4 separate regions of the Homo sapiens genome follow, and all the other regions are linked to region 4. Evidence: promoter capture Hi-C in 16 types of primary human blood cells and fetal thymus (Javierre and others, 2016). All regions are on one chromosome and are shown on one strand. Each heading gives the region's core, a stretch centred on a gene start or on the middle of the fragment in contact. The rest is flanking DNA. Distances are from core to core; before and after follow the strand shown. Region 1 has its middle 340 kb from the start of FSTL5. Region 2 has its middle 320 kb from the start of FSTL5. Region 3 has its middle 350 kb from the start of FSTL5. Region 4 holds the start of TKTL2 (transketolase like 2).

The links. Contacts are between HindIII fragments. The CHiCAGO score rates a contact against its expected background, and 5 or more counts as called.
Region 1: a fragment that was not itself captured here is called in contact with the fragment with the promoter of TKTL2 in region 4 in 5 of 17 cell types (erythroblasts, megakaryocytes, M0 macrophages and 2 more); the score reaches 11.2 in erythroblasts.
Region 2: a contact is called between a fragment that was not itself captured here and the fragment with the promoter of TKTL2 in region 4, in 1 of 17 cell types (endothelial precursors). The highest score is 6.3, in endothelial precursors.
Region 3: a contact is called between a fragment that was not itself captured here and the fragment with the promoter of TKTL2 in region 4, in 1 of 17 cell types (M2 macrophages). The highest score is 5.1, in M2 macrophages.

Annotation. Positions count from the first base shown.
Region 1 is chr4:162,501,278-162,504,104 of GRCh38, forward strand. No RefSeq gene overlaps it. Among named protein-coding and RNA genes, the nearest start is that of FSTL5, 340 kb to the left of the region's middle. The HindIII fragment of the contact is 6,861 bases long and covers 1-2,827 here.
Region 2 is chr4:162,482,627-162,485,326 of GRCh38, forward strand. No RefSeq gene overlaps it. Among named protein-coding and RNA genes, the nearest start is that of FSTL5, 320 kb to the left of the region's middle. The HindIII fragment of the contact is 1,243 bases long and covers 770-2,012 here.
Region 3 is chr4:162,517,248-162,520,128 of GRCh38, forward strand. No RefSeq gene overlaps it. Among named protein-coding and RNA genes, the nearest start is that of FSTL5, 350 kb to the left of the region's middle. The HindIII fragment of the contact is 3,127 bases long and covers 1-2,881 here.
Region 4 is chr4:163,472,238-163,475,130 of GRCh38, forward strand. It overlaps TKTL2 (transketolase like 2), which reads right to left and starts at 1,517. Exons shown (of 1, transcript NM_032136.5): 1 at 1-1,517. The coding sequence starts at 1,497. The HindIII fragment of the contact is 3,282 bases long and covers 1-2,246 here.

The DNA of each region.
Region 1 (2,827 bases), core at 19-2,518, 970 kb before region 4:
TTCTCAAATTGGAAATCTAATTTATATATTTGCCCAGGCATGAGGGAAGGGAGAGTGGATTGCAATCTCTTGCATATGTATGATTTTATATTTTGACCATGTGGTTAGACAATCATCTGCTAGGAGTGATTCTTAAATAACGACAACACGAACATAATTGTCATCATAATGCCACATCATATCCACAGGCCTTGGAACAAAGAAGAGTTATTGGCTATATTTGAAAGAATAATGCTTAGATTGTCTACCCAAGGTATTGCATTTATAAATGATGTGTATTTTACACCATGATGTGGGAGGCGGGTAGAAAACTTAAACACTATGACTGAACATTTAAGGAGTGGAGAGTTATGTTCCTCTTCCTTGAGGGCAGAGTATCTACTTATTTGAAATTCTTCTGCATGGGAGAATCACCTATTCTCTTCATTTATTTATTTATTCAATCATTTATTTATGTAAGTATTGGCTCATGAATATTTATTTTATATTTAGATGTATAATCCAGTACTACTTTATTTTTATATTTTTGCTCAAATTGTCCCAGCTTTGGCCATTAGAGGCTCTTTTAATTGCATCCTGTGTCACTTTGACATACTCTCATCATTGTGTGTGTGTGTGTGTGTGTGTGTGTGTGTATGTGTGTGTGTATGTGCATGTGTGTTTGTGTGCTTTGGGCACCTATCTTTTGATGCTACAAGGTGTTCCAGTGAAGGAGTAAAATTACTGGAGAATGGTATGAAAAACCAAGATCTGGACACTAGGTGTGCTCGTTGCTACTGGGGTGTCATTGTTTCCAGAGATGCTCAATTAATAGAGCAGGAAATACAGATATATACTATCCTATGACTACATATATATAGTAAATATTTCTACATATGGCCATTGTATCTATATTAAACTAAATATGAGGTCATTTTGATGTCTTCAACTCTAATCCTTCATCAGAAATCATATGACTATCAGTGTGTGAATCTCTTTCTGGTCCATCTAGTTTGTTCCACAGATCTCTCTGTCTATTCTATGTCAATAACACATTGCCTTGTTTACTGTCTCTCTATAAAAAGAGGCATTAAAAATGTTCCAACTGTGCTCTTCTTCTTGATTGTGTTGGTTATTCTAAGGCTTTTGACTTTCCATGAAAAATTTAGGATCAGTTTGTCAATATCTACCAAATACCTTCCTTGGATTTTGATTAGAATTTTCTTGAATCTATAGATCAATTGGGACAAATTGACATCTTAACAATATTGAGTCTTCCAATTTGTGACCACAAAATATCTTTTCATTTATTTAGAGCTTCTTTTTTTCTTTCATTACATTTCTTTAGTTTTCCACTTACCAACATTATGTATTTTCTTAGATTTGTGGTGAAGTATTTCATATTTTAGTGATATTGCCAATCTTATATTATTTAAATTTTAAATTTCACTTGCTTATTGCTGGTATACAGAAAAGCAATAGACTTTTGCATAGTAATTGTGCATCGTTTAACCTTGCAATAACTTGCTTATTAGTTTTCCGTACATAATGTTGAAGATAGCAGTTACAGGATTTGCTGATGGATTGATTGTTTTAAGACAAAGAAAATTCAAAGATTTTGACTTGGATAAATGAGGTGGTGCTTATTATAATGGAAAAGAAAACCAGAATGGGAGGCTTAGGAAGTATAATTTCAGAAATCCAATATTGAGATACCAAATATTCAACTGGAAATGTCAAGAAGCCTGGAGTTTATGAAAGAAATCTGGTTTAGAGACAGACATTTGTATTGATTGGCATGTGTGTATACATATATATATTTTGAAAAAGTATACATATTCTATATATATGTATATATAGTATAGTCTATACTTATAAATTATATCCCATAGTTTAATATATATATGTGCTATATTACATACACAGAAAGAGTACTATACTATATATAGTAGTACTATACTGTATATATATATAAGCATATATATGTATGTATACAGAGATTGAATGAGAAAACTTAAGTAATAAGATAAGTTAGAAAACACCTATGTCATGGATTGAGGTCTGAAATGTGTAAAAGTTTAAACGACTAGAAGAGGAGCAGAAATCATCAGAGAAGCTGAGAATGAGTTTCCAAATATGCAGATCCAGAATTAAAAAAGAGAAAAACCTCTAAAATCAAGTGAAAAGAGGGCTTCAATAAAAGGTAGTGACCAACTACATCTAATACAGCTGATAAAACATTTATGCTCAGAGAAATTACCATTGAATTTGTCAACATTGGTTACCTTAACAAGAGCTATTTTACTGGAGCAACGGGGTGGAGGGGGAAGACTGAAGAACCTTCAAGAAAAAGATTAAAAGGTACAAAAAGGATGCAGTTTGCACTGACAACTCATTAAGAAAATTTTGTTATAAAGAGAAGCAGAGGCCGGGCGCGGTGGCTCACACCTGTAATCCCAGCACTTTGGGAGGCCGAGACGGGTGGATCACGAGGTCAGGAGTTCAAGACCAGCTTGGCCAAGATGGTGAAACCACGTCTCTACTAAAAATACAAAAAAAAAAAAATTAGCCGGGCGTGGTGGCACGCACCTGTAATCCCAGCGAGTCCGGAGGCTGAGACGGAGAATTGCTTAAACCTGGAGGGGCGGAGCTTGCAGTGAGCCCAGATAGCACCACTGTACTCCAGCCTGCTGGGTGACAGAGGGAGACTCCGTCTCAAAAAAAAAAAAAAAAAAAGAGAAGCAGAGACATGTAGGGTAGATGCATTGTGCCTGAAGAAGGATGATATTTTGACATATGTACATTGATGGAAAAATCTTGTGATTTGATGACACAGGAGAAAAAGAGA
Region 2 (2,700 bases), core at 141-2,640, 990 kb before region 4:
TTAACTGAGCAACCTGCATTGCCATTGCTATATTTGGCAAACTGTCTCTTTTCCTTATCCCTGAAAATGGCTTTAAAACCCAGCTTACAACTCACTCACTCTCAAAGAGGTCTCACTTATGTATAACTTAAACTCCTAATGTATACCAAAAACACAGCAGGATAGTTTTACTGAATAAATCTGAATATGTTTATATAGATATATTTTTTTGTAAAAAAAAACAAGATTTTGAATATACAGCCTTATAAATTTGATAAGGAATAATGCAGTGTCTCATATAACATCTTATAAAATAGGCTTTAATTTTAAACAGTTTTTAAAATAACCACATTTACTTTTTAATTAAGGTAGAAACATAATGTTTGTTATGTTTTGTACCAGAGCTGAACACAGTCAAATCTAAAGGCAATTTTCCTTGGTAAGACAATTATTACTTTTCGCCAACTGACATATTTTAATATATGTATACCTGATGTCTTACACGTTATGTTTTCACAAGTATTTATTCTCATTCATAAGCAGAAAATGGCCATGAACTCTATAAGACATTGTCTAATAGCTAATGCAATGAGAACAGAGTAGCACCACAAATATCGATATTGGCAAGATATTACTATTCTATAATTCTTTTAGAGTAATCAATGATGTTTAGGTTGCTTACATTTTAATTGGATAATATTTTTCTATCATAGCAGAAAATGTTAAAGGTGCAACTATTTCTTTAAAAGTAAGGCCTAGCCAGTTATCCCTGAAGCTTGAGTTTTTAATAAGCTTATTTTCCCTTATGCACACTATACCATCAACATATTTACACACAGATAAAAGAAAATGTAGGCTGGGCCTGGTGGCTTACGCTTGTAATCCTAGCACTTTCGGAGGCCAAGGCCGGCAGATCTCTTGAAGTTGGGAGTTTGAGACCAGGCTGGCCAACATGGTGAAACCCATCTCTACTAAAAATACAAAAATTAGTTGGGCATGGTGGCGCACACTTGTAATCCCAGCTACTTGGGAGGTTGAGGCCCTAGAATCTCTGAAACCCAGAAGGCAGAGGTTGCAGTGAGCCGAGATGGTGCCACTGCACTCCAGCCTGGGCGACAGACCAAGGCTGCCTCTCAAAAAAAAAGAAAGAAAAAGAGAGAGAGAGAGGAAGACTTATATTAAGCCAAAAAAAAAAAAAAAAAAAAAAAAACTAAGAAAAATCCAAGTCTTTTAAATGTTGACTTTTAATTTTTATTTTATTTTTTTATTTTTTGAGATGGAGTCTCACTCTGTTGCTCAGGCTGGAGTGCAGTGGCACAATCTCGGCTCACTGCAACCTCTGCCTCCCAGGTTCAAGCGATTCTCCTGCCTCAGCCTCCCCGGTAGCTGGGACTTGGCACGTGCCACCATGCATGGCTAATTTTTTGTATTTTTAGTAGAGACGGGGTCTCACTGTATTAGCCAGGATGGTCTCGGTCTCCTGACCTCGTGATCCACCCGCCTCAGACTCCCAAAATGTTGGGATTACAGGCGTGAGCCACTGCGCCTGGCCCTCAAGTTCGTTTTTAATTCTGCTTTCCAAACACTTTTTCCGAAAGAGAAAAGCTACGAGCTGAGTAATGTTACAAAAAGTTGTTACATGACGTTGGCTGTGAAATAAAGTATCTTGATTGTATCCAGATAACAATGCTAAGTTTAGGAGGAAAAAAACCCAGCAAAATAAATTCTGCTAAAATGTTTCTGAGTTTGATTTTCCACCTACTGTTGAATAGAGAATATTATTATTTTTTTTAAGTTCGCAGTTTTTGGGGAAGATTGCTCTAATGCTCAAAAGGAATTCCAGAATAAGATATATAACTACTTGTTCTTCCATGGGATAAATGATACTGTCAAATTATGAAGAAATCACCACTCAATATTTGAAAGAAAAAACATGTTGTGCTTATTGCTTACTATAGTGAATAGAGATATGCTGGTCAGGTATAGCCTCTCTAAAAAGAGCAAGCTGCTGGATTTATACCAGAATTTTTGGAAGCTTAAAAGTCAGGGATTGGTGACCTTTCAGAAGTTTAAGTAGGTTGACATTCGCTGCCAAAATGTGATTACTCCAACAAAATTGTTCTCAATTGGTTGACACTCAGAATTGTGTTTATGGGAGTGAGTCCATATAAATTGCTTGGCTTTCTGAAATGAAAGCTGTTAATGATTGGTTTTCCTGCAAAAAAAGAAAAAAAAGTCATCATCAATCAATTGGATGGGTTAAAATTCAATTCAAGTGATTACTTGATAAATGTGCCATAGCCTTTTTTAAGAGCCTGTTTTATTATTAATAATAATTATTATTATTCCCAGTATCCCCTTTGGTTTTCATGTAGCCAAAGCTGCAGGAGAGACTATCGGGGACTGCCCATATTCTTGAAACGACATTTCATTTACTGATATCTAATTTTCAAGTTGAGTATGAATCAGTGTGATTGCATCATGGTTTTGCCTTTGAATCAGTTTTTGGGTCATTTGTTAAGACAATGTCTATCTAGAAAACATTTACGACTTTGGACAAGTATGAAATAATTCTAAGGAAAACAAGCCTAACTACAAGCATTATAAGGAGAGAAGACAAGACATTTTGGAACAATGACCTAAGACTTTCCTTGCCTAACAGAGAAAGTAAGTCCCCAAGATGTGCTGTCTTATCTAGCCAGGTTTTCTTTTTCTGTTAGC
Region 3 (2,881 bases), core at 183-2,682, 960 kb before region 4:
GTTATGCTTCAGGTAAATGTGACATCTTCCAAGGTATGCACAAGGTACACACCTGGCTTCATGCCTGTGGTGTGTGTGATTATATGGGTGAGTAGAAATAAAGCTATTAAAACATAGTTGAGTAAGCTATGTTTGCTTTAGTGAAAATATTTAATTTAATTTAAATTTTCTATTCATTCTTTAGCTCTCTAAACCTCCCTGGAATACTGTCACCACAGCATTTGCTGTCCCTCTGCCTGGAATTCCCTGTCCCAAATATACACCTGGATTACTGCCTCACTCACCTTAGACTTTGACACAAATAGTTACTCTCAATGAGGTTTTCATGAGTATTCTAATTAAAAGTAAATTTTATTTCTCAACTCTCATCTTTTTTTTTCCTGCTTTAATTTTCTATATGACAATTCTTACCATATAACACCCTATGTGTCCTATTTTTTATTAGTCTTTCATTTAAAGTGTAAGCCTCCTAAAGACATCCTATGGGATATAAAAACATAAATTATTGTACTTAACTGCAGAATATCACTGGATATATTATCATACCTCTCAGCAAAATAATCCATGATCTCCCAGCTAGCCTTGCTGATGGGAATGTGCATGGGATGTACTAGCCAAATGGAATTCTCAAATTCTCATGAAATCTCTTTAGAACAGGACAGGATCGACTTTGCCTTTCATTTTCGACAACATCTTGCTCAGAGTACTGATTCAAGACTGGAATTGGAACAACCAACATGTAGACATTAATGATAAGCATGAGATTCAAGCCACATGCTAAGAGTGAGCAGAAAGATAGAGTCTGAATTCCTCACTGATGGCACTGGCACCAGACTTCATACCTCTAGACTCCCTCGCTTTGTGAGAAAAACAGCCCCACAAGTGATGAAGCCACTATTATTTGGGTATTCTATCAGGTAGTCGAATACAAACCCCAGTGGATGTAAATCTAAAAAACTCACAAAGCTCTACCCTCTTCCTGAATTCCAGTGATCCTCCGCCTGAGAATTGTGCTCTAGAATTGTAAACTGTGCTACAAACATTTAAGCAAAGGGTTTCCATGTAAAATAGACTTCAGGATGGGTTTTATGTTCTGATCAATATTTTTAACTGTGGAGGTTGTAGGGATGTTGTATAACGTGGTGGGAAAAATAAGAGACATGTATTAGAATTCCAAAATTTTACACAAGATTTGCTATAGAGTAGCCCCAAACTACAAGGATCTCATTCAATTGCCCTGGGCCTCAGTTTCCTCATCTGTAAAAGATAGTATTGGACTTAAAGTTCTCTGAAGTCTTATTTATTTCTAATACTATATGATTATTTCTGTGTTGTTTAATACCTTGTACTGTAGATTATTATTATATATAAAAACATGATTATTATAAAAGATTATTCTTCATTACATGGAGGACTCATTACATGAAGGGACTCAGCTCAAATAAGGGAGAGCAGAGCTGAAGGGTATGAGGAAGAGCAAGACCTGACTCACCAGTGCCACGGACAGCAAGGGCAGCATTGCTGTAACCATGCTACAAGTTGCTTTAATTAATTAATCTGGATGAGAGAGGCATACCTGGTAGGAATCTATTACTGAGACACAAAATAGTCCAGCCACTTCTGAGGGCTGCCTGTAATCCCAGCACTTTTGGAGGCCGAGGCGGGTGGATCACCTAAGGTCAGGAGTTCGAGACTAGCTTGACCAATGTGAAACCCCGTCTCTACTAAAAATACAAAAATTAACTGGGCATGGTGGCCAGCGTCTGCAGTCCCAGCTACTCGGGAGGCTCAGGCAGGAGAATTGCATGAACCTGAAAGGTGGAGGTCTCAGTGAGTCAAGATCATGCCACTGCGCTCAAGCCTGGATAACAGAACGAGACTCACTCTCAAAAAAAAAAAAAAAAAAAAAGGCAGGGAAGTAAGAATACTGACTGGGAGTATTTCTTCTTTCAAATTAAGCCATTATTATAAAAAACATCTGGCAGTGAAATAATGCTGTGCTAAGTTGAAATTTAGCAAAATAAACATAAAAAGGAGCTATTATAGGCTGCATTTTCCCATTATTCCAGGGGACATTAACTAAGATTAAAACATGGTTTAATAGATTATTAATTATAGATGAGTTAAACTTAAATTACCTGCTCTGTAGTGGAAGTGGATTAAATTTGCCGACTATAAGTACTTAAAAATCTTCATACATAGATATTCTAGTAGGTGTTTTATGACAGTGTCCACAACCTTTTAAAACAATCTTATCTTTTACACTTAAAAAAAAATAGTACACACTGGCCAGGTGTGGTGGCTCACGCCTGTAATCCTAGCACTTTGGGAGGCCGAGGCGGGCAGATCACGAGGTCAGGAGATCGAGACCATCCTGGCTAACATGGTGAAACCCCATCTCTAGTAAACATACAAAAAATTAGCTGGGCATGGTGGCAGGTGCCTGTAGTCCCAGCTACTCCGGAGGCTGAGGGAGGAGAATGGCGTGAACCCTGGAGGCGGAGCTTGCAGTGAGCGAAGATGGTGCCACTGCACTCCAGCCTGGGCGACAGAGTGAGGCTCCGTCTCAGAAAAAAAAAAAAAAAAAAAAAGTACACAACTACACCTATATATGATACATATGACATAAATTTTAGACCTTAATGCTATTGGTTAGGACAAGGGGATGGACCACTGTCATTTTTTAGCAGAAATTTGAAAATAGGCAACAACAAAAATGTAGTTGTCTAAAATCTTTTACAGGAAATTTTCCCTTTATTAGCTTTATTATGTTGCCATGGCCAATACTCCCGTACTTAATCTGGTCCCCACTTAACCCTCTGCCTTTCTCTCTCATATCTCTACTCCTCCAATCACAGCACTGTCTTTCAGCTTTTGGACA
Region 4 (2,893 bases), core at 267-2,766:
GACCACCTTGGCCTGGCCAATCTCAAAATTTTCTTGTGGGGTATAAATAACTGCAGTTTCTGGTTGGCTGGTTCGAATGAAGCACATTCCCTTGGTATTGGCGGCTAGATAAATAGCATGCTCTGTCGAGATGGCATCACTTGGATAGAAAACAGTACAATTGGGAATGCTTCGGAACATGGCTAGATCCTCCAGGGCCATCTGGGAGACTCCATCTTCTCCAGTGGATACCCCACAGTGGGAACCAATAAGGTTGATATTGGCTTGAGAAATGGCTCCCATTCGGAGCTGATCGAATGCTCTAGTAAAAAAGGCAGCAAAAGCACCAGCAAAAGCAATGGTTCGACCACGTGTAGCACAGCCTAGTGCCACACTTACCATGTTTTGTTCAGCAATAATACACTCTATGAAACGCTCAGGGTGTTCTTTCCTGAATATCTCAGAAAAGGTGGAGTTCATCGTGTCACCACTCAGAACAATAACTCTTTCATTTGCACGGCCCAGTTTAGCCAGAGCCAAACCATATGTTTTCTGAGTAGCTATCTTGTCACCAACTTTGTAAGCAGGTGGGGAGGTCATTTTTATATCTGTGATGCTTATTTGAGGTGAGTCTTCCACAGGCGATTTTGGTATGAGATTCTCATTGGTCTGTATCTGACTCTCAATTAATTTGACAATTGCATCTGCTCTTTCTTTTGGCACTGGCTTTCCATGCCAATTTTCTGCATCCTCAATATTTGGAATACCCCGACCTTTGAAGGTCTTGGCAACTATAGCAGTAGGCTTGTTCTTCACTTGACTTGCTTGCCAAAATGCTTGGCACAAGGCCTCCACATCATGGCCATCCACTAAGTAAGTATTCCATCCAAAGGCTTCACAGCAATTCTGGTAGATGTCTGCGCCATGCTCAAGGGGTGCAGGGCCACTTTGTCCCAAGCGGTTCACGTCGAAGACCGCCACGAGATTGTCCAAGTTGTAGTGGGAGGCAAAAGCAAAAGCCTCCCACACAGAGCCTTCTGAGGATTCGCCATCTCCCATAAGGCAGAACACCCGGTAGCTGGCCTTGTCAAGGTACTTGCCAGTATAAGCCATTCCACATGCAGTACCTAATCCCTGACCTAGGGACCCTGTTGCCACGTCAACAAACGGCAATCGGGGGGTAGGGTGTCTCTCCAAGTCGCTGTGAAGTTTCCTCAGGTTCAGCAAGTCAGATTCACTGATGTCACCCACCTCCACCCAAGCAGCATAGAGGATAGGAGCAGCATGTCCCCTGGAGAGGATGAACCGGTCGTTGTCCGGGTGTTCTGGGTCTGTCTGTTTATACTTCATCGTGTGGAAGAAGAGGACAGACACGACCTCCGCTGCACTGCAGCACGACGTGAGCTGGCCAGAACCAGAGGCACACGTGGCCCTGATGGAATGGATCCGCAGGCGGTTGGCTGTGTCCCGCAGCACCTGCACGGTCTTCACGTCGGGCTTGGCGTCGTTGGCCATCATCTCTCTTTTGTCGGTTTGGCAAAGCAAACGGCGCCGCAGCACCCCCACAACCCACCGCGGCAGTGCTCTCACGTGACCGCCCCGCCCTCGCCTCCCCTCTGCCTGAAGGCCTGAGCTCAGCCACCAGCCGGGGCGCCCACAACGGAGCTTCCCGCGAGACTGAGGAAACGGAAACGTTGGAGTAGCCTGCACCCTCTGATGTGCACCGTTCCCTCTCCCTGTCCACGCCCAGCTGAATGGATTTTTAGTATTTACTTTGTCACGTGCATGTTCAACATTAGGAAGCATAATTAAATTTTTTACCTTTCCCTGTGTTATAAATTCAAGACTAGACATTTTTCTGTGTATTATAGGAAGCGATTTGTCAGGCTGTGCTTTTTTAATGCATTAACACTATATCCGAGTCATCACTCTTTCATATCAGAACATTAATAGAAAGGATACAAAGTCACTTTCAATCTGACCAGTATGGCAATGCTATCTCAACAGAGACTTTCTCAGAGCAACCAAATATCTGAATCTCAGACTTATAGAAAGAAATGCAATGACTAATTTGACCAAAATTTATAGGAAGAACAAATCTGAAACCACCCAATTGCAGAATAGAATTGCAACTCCAGTGTGCCGTAAAGTACTATTTCTGTGTTGAAATAATTAGAAGGCCAGTAGGCTGAGGTAGCTTCAGCTCCATGAGTTCCTACCTAAGGAAAGGAAACCCAAATCAGTGTAAATGATAAAAAGGAAATTTAAGCTTAATCAATCAGAAACTGCCAGCTAACTTCTAACTGGGGACTTTCCACTGGGATGACCCAAATAAGTCTAGTACTCCACTTTAACCAATCAAATATCTTTCCTTTGCTTCCAAATTCACCCTATAAAAGCCTTCTCCTTGGCTCCTTTATCAGGAGCTACCAGATTCATGAATCACTGAATGGTCAAATAAATGCTTTAATATTTTAATGTGCCTCAGTTTATCTTTTAATGACTATTACTACAAATCATTTTTAAGACAAAGTTACTTACTTTAAAAAACTAAATTTGTGGGCCGGGTGCTGTGGCTCACACCTGTAATCCCAGCACTTTGGGAGGCCGAGGCAGGCGGATCACAAGGTCAGGAGTTCGAGACCATCCTGGCTAACACGGTGAAACCCCGTGTCTACTAAAAATACAAAAAAATTAGCTGGGCGTGGTGATGGGCACCTGTAGTCCCAGCTACTCGGGAGGCTGAGGCAGGAGAATGGCGTGAACCTGGGAGGTGGAGCTTGCAGTGAGCCCAGATTGTGCCACTGCACTCCAGCCTGGGAGACAGAGCGAGACTCCGTCTAAAACAAAAAAAACTAAATTTGTGCCATTGAACTCTTCTAGCAGGCCAAGGTTATGGTTTGTCATCAATAAA